Regions from separate parts of the Homo sapiens genome. Here all the other regions are linked to region 1. Evidence: promoter capture Hi-C in 16 types of primary human blood cells and fetal thymus (Javierre and others, 2016). All regions are on one chromosome and are shown on one strand. Each heading gives the region's core, a stretch centred on a gene start or on the middle of the fragment in contact. The rest is flanking DNA. Distances are from core to core; before and after follow the strand shown.

Region 1 (2,700 bases), core at 1-2,500:
AGGTATGGTGACTTCTCGTGGATCAGGCGGTTGGGGACCCTCTGGGGTGTAGATGAAGGATGGCTTCCTTTCCCTCCAGCAGGCATGGGCACTGAACTACTGACCGTCGCACTTCGGTCCTTGTCCCGGGAGGAGCTACCCCTGGCGAGGACTGGTGCATCAGGCAAGCCAGGGGCCTCCACCCACCTTCTCCCAGGCCCCCCAGCACCTGCTCCATTTCACTCAGCACCCCAGTAGGACCCCTGCTCCCAGCCCAACCCACCTTTCTGAACCATGGGGGAGACTGTGGCCTTTGTGCTCCCCCTTATGTTTTTTGGGGGGTGAGGAGAGGTGGCTCATTGGGGGCTCCTTGCCAGGTTAGTCTCCCCCAACCTCCTGGGCCTGGCGGTGGGAAGGATGGCTGTGAGGTCAGGGCGGGTCACAATGGGCAGAATGGTTCTTGGGGCTCCATTCTTACCCCTCCCCAGGCCCCTCCCCCGGCCCTTCCTGGAGCAGCTGCTTGGAGGCATCTCTCTGGCAGGCCTGGGTGTGGCCCCACTGGAAGGCAGCCTACTGTTGGTGGCTGGACAGGCCAAGATCAGTAGGGTCTGGGACTCGACCAGGTGAGGGACAAACAGAGGAAACCAGACATGGGGACTCCCTCACTCAGCGCCCACCTGCTGGGACTCCTGTGGGGCCAGGTCCTGGGCCAGACTCCAGGACACCTAGGGAATCAGAGACCTCAGGGAGTTCAGCCTGGAAGTGGGACTGCAGGCAGACCTAAATAACGAAAGGTCCATGCAGCAATAAAGGACTGTGACAGGGCACAGGGTACTATTGGAGAAAGGCCCTTGACCCAGCATCCAGCACTGGGGTGCAAGGAAGGCTTCCTGGAAGCAGTGTCAGAACAGTCCCTGAGGAGCTGGCACTGCACTGGAAGGAAGGGGAGAGGAGGGAAGGGATGAGGACGGGAGAGGAGGGGAGGAGGGCCTTACAGCCAGAGCCAGGTCTCAGGAGCAGACCGGAGGTGGGGTGGGGGAAGGGCCAGGCATGCAGGGGTGGTCCAGACTGGCACTGGGGACCGGTGTCCGGAAGACCCTCCACTGGGCCCGCAGGCAGGCGCAGGGAGTGCCCTAGGGGCCCGCTCGCCCGCCCGTACCTGCGGCTCGCGGCGAGGCCTGCACCGGCGCGGGGCAGCAGAAGGACGCGGCCCAACCAGGCCCGCGCGCCCAGCATGGCTGCTCGGGGCCGTGGGCCCGGCCGCTGAGGACAGGAAGGGAAGTCAGGAGGCTGCGAGGGGCGGGCCGGGCACCTACGGAGCCGCGGGCGGGTCTTCGCCGGGACTTGGGACAGTGTGGCTGGTCTCCGAGCGTCGCCCTGCGGCGGAGCGCAGAATTGCAGATCAGGCACCCGAGCCTTGGGAGGACCCATTCTGTGCATAAAACTGGGCTCTGCCCCTGCCTGGGGAGGACAGCCCTTCTCAAGGGAATAGGGAGAGTTGTGGGATCTAGGGCTGGGAGATGCTAGGGACATGGGATGCCAGAGCTTCAGCTCATTTTGTCCAACCCCTGCCCATTTTACAAATGAGAAATGAGATCCAAGGCGAAGGCGTACCTTGGCCAGGTCCACCAGCTAACAAGGTTTGCTTTTTGCAGCCTCCTCGTCTCTAGGTCCTACTCAAATCCTACCCACTCCAGGAAGTCTTCCTTAAATAATACTGATGAGCCCATTTTATGTCTCATAGGTTACACATGGCCTCATTGGCTACATTCAGCCAATATTTATTAAGTGCCTGCCGCCTGCCACTCTGCAAGGCACTGAGTATACAATGGTGGGCAGAGAGAAACAAGGCTCCTGCCCTCACATGGCTCACAGTCTGTTGAGAGCGGCAGATGCTAATTCGACAGCCATACCGATAAACACCCACGTGACAAGTCCGTGAGGGTATAACGTAACAAGTGACCTGATCTGGTGGAAGGGGCAAAGGATGAAGGCTTCCCTGAGGAAATCACATTTGTGAAGCCATGGAGAACGAGAGAAAGGAACTTGGAGGGTGCTCAGGGGGAGTGCTGGGGAAGGAGGCAGAGGTACAGTTTGTGCAAAGGTCCCGTGGCTTGTCAGTGAGTCCGGGCTGAGCAACTGCAGAAAGAGGGAAGACAGGCAGTAGATGAGGGCAGAGGCAAGATCTTGGAGACACTCGTGAACTGTAAGAAGGGGATTTTTATTTTTTGAGACAGAGTCTCGCTCTGTCACCCAGGCTGGAGTGCAGTGGTGTGATCTCGGCTCACTGCAACCTCCGCATCCTGGGTTCAAGGCTGGTCTCGAACTCCTGACCTCAGGTGATCCATCTGCCTTGGCCTCCCAAAGTGCTGGGATTACAGGCATGAGCCACCATACCCGACCCCATTTTTTTTTAGCCAGAGTCTCACTCTGTTGCCCAGGCTGGAGTGCAGTGGATCTTGGCTCTCTGCAACCTCCACCTCCTAGGTTTAAGCGATTCTTGTGCCTCAGCCTTCCAAGTAGCTGGGACTACAGGAGCGCGCCACCATGCCCAGCTAATTTTTGTATTTTTAGTAGAGACGGGGTTTCGCCATGTTGCCTAGGCTGGTCTCAAACTCCTGACCTCAAGCGATCCATCTGCCTCAGCCTCCGAAGTGCTGGGATTACAGGTGTGAGCCACCGTGCCTGGCCAGAGAAGGGGATTTTTGATGACAGTAGAAG
Region 2 (2,700 bases), core at 46-2,545, 430 kb before region 1:
TTTTCAGCAGAGATTCTAATAGAAGCCTTGGGAAGAACTTTATGTATTACTTGGTATTATGCCAAGTGGGATCTTGTTATTTTCGTTAGGGGCTTTGAGCACCAGGTTTACCAGATAGAAGACGCTGAGAGTGGTGGCTCACAGTAATTCTCTCCTCCCTGTCATGCACCTCTCCATGTCCCCTTTCCTCCTTTCTCACTTTAGCCGTAATCCTCCACCAGGGACGTTTACTGGGGCTGAGGGGTAAGTGCAGATTCTGAACCAAACTCTTCTTCCTGGCTTCTAATAGCCACTGTAAGGCTGTTACCACTCCTCTAGAATACCCTCTTGAATGTTCCTAAATGTTATCCACTTGCAGTCACTGCATCGCAGCAGGTGTCTTTTTTTTTTTTTTAATGTTTGTTACATGGCCACCAAACTGCTCAGCAGCTTAGTCTATTTATCATCTTTTGTTGCAGCTGAACTTTCTTTCAGACTTTGTTTTCCTTCCAGTATAAACATGAAACATCTCTTAAAGCTGTCATTAATTTACATCGTTTACTCTTGTTACCGATCATATTTCTTTCATTTACTTACTTGCCCATGGAATGGGGATGTTTTGTGAGTCTGGTCTTTTACAGTACGCAGCACACCATCAGTCTGGTATCAATAAAAGCTGCTCTATTGTAGTGGCTGGATTCTTGTAAGCACAACTTTTTACCAACCCCCTCAAGGGAAATATTCTTACTGTGAGGGAGAAAAATCAGAAGATAAACTATAAAGAAAGACTTTATTTGCAAATATACCCATTTACTTTAAACTGTATAATGGTTAGTTTTCTAACATGTGCATTAAAAACAAAACAAGAAACAACTAAGATTCAAATTTGTTTTTTTTTTAACTAAAATTATTTTTTAAATGAATAGATGTGTTTAAAAAATAAGCTTACTTATTGCTAGACTGGCAAAATCCCCTACTCCATTTACTGAGGTACTTAAAAATAACTAGCATGCTGTATCTCTTTTTTTCCCAGCTTTGTCTTGAATTGGCATTGCCATCCTTGTTTTATCTCAACTGGCTGTAGCTTTTAGATAATATCATAAGGATTAACCAGTAACCTCTTACATTCATTACTGTTTTCTAGGGGAAAATATTTGGTATTTGGTTTTTCTGTTGCAGCAAATAAAACCTCAGGTGTACCAGGAAATCGTCCTGGAAGTGTAATCCGTGTATATGGTGATGAAAACAGTGATAAAGTGACTCCAGGGACATTTATACCCTATTGTTCAATGGCACATGCACAGCTTTGCTTCCATGGGCACCGGGATGCTGTGAAATTCTTTGTGGCAGTCCCAGGTATGTTAGATTATTCTGTTGAGATGTTCCATGTAATTGTCTCTCTTCTGTCATCTCTTGGTTCCACTACCTAATAGTCTAAGGCTAAGTACTCGAATTGCAGGTAATTTCAATATATACGAAGGAAGTTCTGTAATGGAGGTGTGACTAAGGTGCTATAGGGATACTTGAATGAAGTTACTTTGGAATATCTCTCCCACCCCCAAAGATAAATTTGTTGATTTTTCTTTAGGAGACTTGCTTACTTTTGAAAAGCAGTAGTATTATTTTATCATCGTGGATTGCCAAAAATGGTCTTGACCTAATAAGAGAAATCACTAGAAAGAAGCTTCTATCATCAAGGCTGCATGGAGGAAGAGAGAATGCACTCTGGTACCTTTAGCAGCTTAATAGGAAAAAGCAGTGAACTAGGAGGCCTGGGGGTCTGGCCCCTGTGTCTCTGCCACTAACCTCGAGCAAGGCACTTAACCTCAGAGACTCATTTCCTCACTCCTAGGTGGATGTGATTAATATCTGCTCTGCCTACTTCATTTGTTATGAAAATTAATGAAAATGCTACTGGGAGCTATAAAGCACCACCCAGAAAAAAGATGGAAGTGATGATGTCCAGTGAAAAATGACAAATTATCCATTGACAATACTTAAGTGATGTCACTGACCATCTGTAAGCAGGACACAGGTTTTGAATTTTTTTTTCCCATAAGAGGCAAGTTTAGGAGCTAGACGAAGTTCAGATCTGACTTTCCCCCACCAACTAACTGTGTGATGTAGTATATTAGTCAGGGTTCTTCAGAGAAACAGAACCAATAGGATGCATGTGTATGTGCGTATGAAGAGAGAGTTACTGTTAAGAAATTGGGTCACACAGTTGTGGGGACTAGCAGGTCTGAAATCTGCAGGGCAGGCTGGCAGGCTGGAGACCCCGGGAAGAGTGGATGTTGCAGTCCAAATCTGAAAGCAGTCTGGAGGCAACATTTCTCTTTCCTCTGGATCCCTCAGTCTTTTTCTTCTAAGGCTTTCAACTGGTTAAATGAGGCCCACCCACACTGTGGCGTGTAATCTGCTTTACTCAAAGTCTGTTGTTTTAAATGTTAATCACATCTAAAAAAGACTTACAATGATATCTAGACTGGTGTTTGACCAAATATCTGGGTATCGAGCTAACACGTCAAATTACTCATCATACTTATTTTCCCAAGGGTCTTCCAAAGATTAAATGATTTTATGTACATGGGGCAAGGGCTGGCATATGGTACCCTAAGCAATTATTCAGTTATTCTTAACAACAGTGATAATGAGCTTTCTGAAACCTCATTTGTACATTTTATATATTTGTATAGTCATTTCCTTCCTAGAAATGGGATT
Region 3 (2,700 bases), core at 195-2,694, 450 kb before region 1:
AAAGAGGTTTAATTGGGCTTACATAGGTAACCTCTGGGGAGGCCTCAGAATCATGACAGGAGATGAAAGGCACTTCTTACATGGTGGCAGCAAGAGAAAATGAGGAAGAAGCAAAAGTGTAAACCCCTAATAAACCCATCAGATCTCGTGAGACTTATTCACTATCACGAGAATAGCATGGGAAAGACTGGCCCCCATGATTAAATTACCTCCCCCTGGGTCCCTCTCACAACATGTGGGAATTCGGGGAGATACAATTCAAGTTGAGTTTTGGGTAGGGACGCAGCCAAACCACATCAGTGGTTGTATTTTTACCCTTCCAAATAATCTGGAAATAAATTTGAAATAGTATTGCCTTTTACTGTAACAGCACCACCTTATGAATATTTGTACATACATATTGTTTTAAACATTTTTCCTCCTTTGCCTATACAGGAACAGCAGAAGGAGTTAAAAAATCAAGAAGAATTATCCAGTCTAGTTTGGATCTGTACCAGCACTCATTCGGCTACAAAAGTTCTTATTATTGATGCTGTTCAACCTGGCAACATCCTAGACAGTTTCACTGTTTGCAACTCTCATGTTCTGTGCATTGCAAGTGTGCCAGGTAAGAGTGAGTCATGCGTTTCTCTGCCCTCCCCTCCATCCACCTACCTGCTGGGCACTGATGTAGCAGCTGAAGATGCAGTTCTGCACCTTGCTGTCATGAAGCTTATGTTCTAGTTAGGGAAGATTAAAAAACAAACTGGAAACCATTGAATAAAGAAGATATTTTCAGGTAGTGAAAAATACTGTGAAGAAAATAAAACAATGGGAATATGAGAAAATAACTGGGAGCCAGAGGACTGTTTGGATTAATTAATAAGGAAAGGTCTTCTAAAGTTTTGGATTAAACATTATGTGATGTTAAAACATTAGTTTAAAAATTAAAGAAGTGTATGTGATATATCCATATGTTGGAATATTATTCAGCCATAAAAAGGAATGAAGTTCTTTTTTATATTTTATTGTGGAATACTTAATATGAGTTCTACTTTTTTTTTTTTTTTTTTTTTGAGACAGAGTCTTACTCTGTCACCCAGGCTGGAGTGCAATGGCATGATCTCGGCTCACTGCAACCTCCACCTTCCAGGTTCAAGTGATTCTCCTGCCTCAGCCTCCCGAGTAGCTGGAATTACAGGCACCTGCCACCACGCCCGGCTAATTGTTTGCATTTTTACTAGAGACGGGGTTTTACCATGTTGGTCAGGCTAGTCTTTTTTTTTTTTTTTTTTTGAGATGGAGTCTTACTCTGTCACTCACACTGGAGTGCAGTGGCACCGTCTCGGCTTACTGCAACCTCTACCTCCTGGGTTCAAGTGATTCTTTTGCCTTAGCCTCCCAAGTAGCTGGGACTACAGGCACGAGCCACTACACCCGGCTAATTTTTGTATTTTTGGTAGAAATGGGGTGTCACCATATTGGCCAGGTTGGTCTCGAACTCCTAGACCTCGTGATCTGCCCGCCTCGGTCTCCCAAAGTGCTGAGATTACAGGTGTGACCCACCACCCCGGGCAGTCAGATTAGTCTTGAACTCCTGACCTCAGGTGATCCACCCGCTTCGTCCTCCCGAAGTACTGGGATTACAGGCATGAGCCACTGAACCCAGCCTGAGATCTACCCTCTTAACACATTTTTGTTTTTGTTTTTTTGAGACAGGGCCTCACTCTGTTGCCCAGGCTGGATTGCAGTGGTGCAGTCACAACTCATTGTACTCATTGCAGCCATGACCTTCCGGGCTCAAGTGATCCTCCCAGCTCAGCCTCCCAAGTAGCTGGGACCACAGGCGCACACTACCACACCTGGCTAAGTTGTTTGTACTTTTTGTAGGCAGGGTTTCACCATGTTGCCCAGGCTGGTCTGGAACTCCTGGGCTCAAGTGATCTGCCTGCCTTGGCCTCCCGAAGTATTGGGATGCCCAGCCCTCTTAACAAATTTTTAAGAGTACAATACATTATCCTCTAGGTAGAAGTTCTGACACATGTTATAACACAGATGAACCTTGGAAACACTATGCCAAAGGAAATAAGTCGGACACAAAAGGACAAATATTATATGATTCCGCTTATATGAGATATCTAGAATAGGCACATTCATAAAAACATAGAGTTTCTGTGTGAGGTGATGGAAAAGCTTTAGAAATAGGCCGGCCATGGAGGTTCACACTCATAATCCCAGCACTTTCAGAGGCCAAGGTGGGACGATCACTTGAGCCCAGAAGTTTGAGACCAGTCTGGGCAATATAGTGAGACCTCATTCCACAAAAAATCAAAAAATGAGGCGGGAGGATAACTTGAGTCGGGGAGGTCAAGACTGCAGTGAGCTACGATTGCACCACTACACACCCACCTGGGCAATGGGAGTAAGACCCTGTGTTTTAAAAAAAAAAAAAAAAAAAAAAAAAAAAAGACCTGGCATGGTGGCTTACACCTGTAATCCAGACACTTTGGGAGGCTGAGGTGGGCGGATCACCTGAGGTCAGGAGTTCGAGACCAGCCTGGCCAACATGGTAAAACCCCGTTTCTACTAAAAATACAAAAATTAGCCAGGTGCAGTGGCAGGCGCTTGTAATCGCAGCTACTTGGGAGGCTGAGGCAGGAGAATTGCTTGAACCTGGGAGGCAGAGGTTGCAGTGAGCCGAGACTGTACCATTGCACACCA
Region 4 (2,700 bases), core at 128-2,627, 310 kb before region 1:
TGGAGGAGTCAGGTGATAAGATGAAATTCCTTCGTGTAATCTGAGATGATTTATTTGAAATTTATATGGAGAGAGCATTGGATCAGTTTTCTGTTTTTGCTGAGGAAACTTGCTTGGACAAAACGGCTGACTGAACTTAGAAAAATTTACATCACTTTACTAATCTTTAAAGTTTAGCTATTGCATATAGCTAGAGAACTTATGGTCAAAATCTATTCACGGCTGGACAGATGGTTAGATGTTAGCATTTTCATTTTCCCAGCAAAAACGCTTATGTATTTAATTTTTTGCAAGTGGGTACCCAACCTGCTGGTTTGAAGGATTTAGAGATATTGACAATGTATCAAATTGGAGTGGCTTGGTGAGGATGGAGTTTTTTAAAACTGAAGAGTTGGGGAGAAGAACACTAAATGAGTCATTTCACTAAATGTCAATTGATACAGTATTGACATAGTATTGGTGAGAAAGTTAACGTCCATTTGATACAGTGTTGACATAGTATTGGTGAGAAAGCTGTCTTAAAAAACTTTATATGTACTTTTATAGTAAGAAACCAGCACTGCCTGGGTTACCAGTGAAATAAATTTGGTCTCATGAGCTTTTTGGACACCAGTCTACAAAAGCCTTTTGTCATTTACCCATGCAGTGTAGAGCAATACAAAGTTTTAAGGAAACAAGCACTGGAAATAACAGAGCTAAGCTGTTTGTCAGCTCCATGGTGAGGCTTTTGTTCTTTAGGGAACAGAACGAGGCTATGAAGAAGTATTGGAATAATGGGTGCAAGCAGCAGAGATCTGGTCTGCCAACACTTACCACTTACATGCTTTTGTGATCACGAAGTTTGAATAGCTGTAAGAACCATCAGGATAATGGCTTTAAGCACTAGTTTCTGCTACAGACTGATAAAGTTACATTTGGGAGAAAACTCTACTTATAAATGAAGGCTCAAGTGTAATGTGCTTTTTCTGAAAATCATAAGGCAGCTGGACGGAACATAATAGAATTTTTTTTTTTTTTGAGACGGAGTCTCTTGCTCTGTCACCCAGGCTGGAGTGCAGTGGCACCATCTCGGCTCACTGCAACCTTCCACCTCCCAGGTTCAAGTGATTCTCCTGCCTCAACTTCCCGAGTAGCTGAGACTACAGGCGCCCGCCACCATGTTGGCTAATTTTTGTATTTTTAGTAGAGACGGGGTTTCACCATGTTGACCAGGCTGGTCTCGAACTCCTGGCCTCAAATGAGCTGCCTGCCTTGGCTTCCCAAAGTGCTCTGATTACAGGCATGAGCCATTGCGCCTGGTCAACAATAGAATTTGAAACTGTCTGGAGCACTAATATATTCATTTTATTTTGAGACAAGGTCTCACTCTGTCACCCAGGCTGGAGTGCAAAGGGGCCATCTTGGCTTACTGCAACCTCCACTAAAGCGATTCTCCTGTCTCACTCTCCTGAATAGCTGGGATTATAGCTGCGTGCCACCGTTCCCTGCTAATTTTTGTATTTTTTGTAGAGGCAGGGTTTCGCCACGTTGCCTGGGCTGGTCTCAAACTCCTGAACTAAGGTGATCCGCCCGCATTGGCCTCCCAAAATGCTGAGATTACAGGCGTGAGCCACCACACCCAGCCAAGCACTAATATATTCAGATTTTAAATACTGAGGTTAACATAAGCCTGAATATCTGTTTCAGATCTTAAGGATATATGTATCGACAAAAATCTTAGGGAAATTTCATCTTGGTACATATGTTTGACATCGGAGAATGACTAACTCAAAATGTGATCTTGATTGGTTTTATTAAAACTTGAGCTTGGTGTCCTTGAGAACTTCATCTTTTTTTTTTTTTAGACAGAGTCTCGCTCTGTTGCCAGGCTGGAGTGCAGTGGTGAAATCTTGGCTCCCTGCAACCTCCGCCTGTCGGGTTCAAGTGATTCTCCTGCCTCAACCTCCCAAGTAGCTGGGACTACAGACGCGCGCCACCACGCCCAGCTAATTTTTATAGTTTTAGTAGAGACGAGACGGGGTTGGCCAGAATGGTCTCGATCGCCTGATCTCATGATCCTCCCGCTTTGGCCTCCCAAAATGCTGGGATTACAGGTGCGAGCCAACGCATCCAGCGAGGACTTCATAATTTTTTAAAAAATGAACAAAGGCCCTGTTTACATGCCCTTTTTGTTCATTAGGAATGGGAATTTTTTAAAAGGTGCTTTTGCCTAGCACATCTGAGAAAAGGTTACATCTTAGTTCCAAGTCATTTTCTCCCCAAGGTGCCATCACACTTTTGACTCTCTGTGGGGAGACCATTTCGGTTGACAATTTGATGAATTCGTTATTTTCACAGGCCTTTCCCATCTTTTTGACTCCTATAACTACAGATACTGTAGCAGCCTCTGAATACCCTGAGTGTCCAAAATGTTGCCTTACAGATTTCATAGCTCATGGATGAGTAAGGAATATTATACCAAAAAATGGCTTTCTAAGTTTAGTATATTCGTTTTCTGCCCTGCCTTGTCGTTTCTGAAATCAGGTACATTGTGAAATGTCCTTTTCGCCTATAATAGATGGCAAATGTAAATATAGGCCTTCTTCAAAATGCCTCCTTAAAGATAACAATATATGCTGTGATTAGTTAACTTAGCTTTTGAAGGTGAAACTAAAGGTACTCTGAGTTTAAAATATTTTTCCAGGGCAGGTGCTGTGGCTC

Evidence for each region. The method cuts DNA at HindIII sites, captures the fragments that hold promoters and counts their contacts. A CHiCAGO score of 5 or more calls a contact.
Region 2: a fragment that was not itself captured here is called in contact with the fragment with the promoter of SPATA20 in region 1 in 4 of 17 cell types (total CD8 T cells, endothelial precursors, naive B cells and 1 more); the score reaches 7.8 in total CD8 T cells.
Region 3: a contact is called between a fragment that was not itself captured here and the fragment with the promoter of SPATA20 in region 1, in 1 of 17 cell types (non-activated CD4 T cells). The highest score is 5.1, in non-activated CD4 T cells.
Region 4: a contact is called between a fragment that was not itself captured here and the fragment with the promoter of SPATA20 in region 1, in 1 of 17 cell types (total B cells). The highest score is 5.2, in total B cells.

The regions. Positions count from the first base shown.
Region 1 is chr17:50,545,724-50,548,423 of GRCh38, reverse strand. SPATA20 (spermatogenesis associated 20) reads right to left here and starts at 1,250. Exons shown (of 17, transcript NM_022827.4): 1 at 1,139-1,250; 2 at 657-704; 3 at 1-141. The coding sequence starts at 1,215. RefSeq lists a silencer at 971-1,240. The HindIII fragment of the contact is 19,639 bases long and covers 1-2,700 here.
Region 2 is chr17:50,973,406-50,976,105 of GRCh38, reverse strand. It overlaps SPAG9 (sperm associated antigen 9), which reads left to right. Exons shown (of 30, transcript NM_001130528.3): 28 at 1,159-1,335. Among named protein-coding and RNA genes, the nearest start is that of TOB1-AS1, 110 kb to the right of the region's middle. The HindIII fragment of the contact is 740 bases long and covers 926-1,665 here.
Region 3 is chr17:50,991,671-50,994,370 of GRCh38, reverse strand. SPAG9 (sperm associated antigen 9) reads left to right here. Exons shown (of 30, transcript NM_001130528.3): 19 at 436-607. Among named protein-coding and RNA genes, the nearest start is that of TOB1-AS1, 130 kb to the right of the region's middle. The HindIII fragment of the contact is 1,461 bases long and covers 714-2,174 here.
Region 4 is chr17:50,859,217-50,861,916 of GRCh38, reverse strand. No RefSeq gene overlaps it. Among named protein-coding and RNA genes, the nearest start is that of TOB1, 5.8 kb to the left of the region's middle. The HindIII fragment of the contact is 4,656 bases long and covers 1-2,700 here.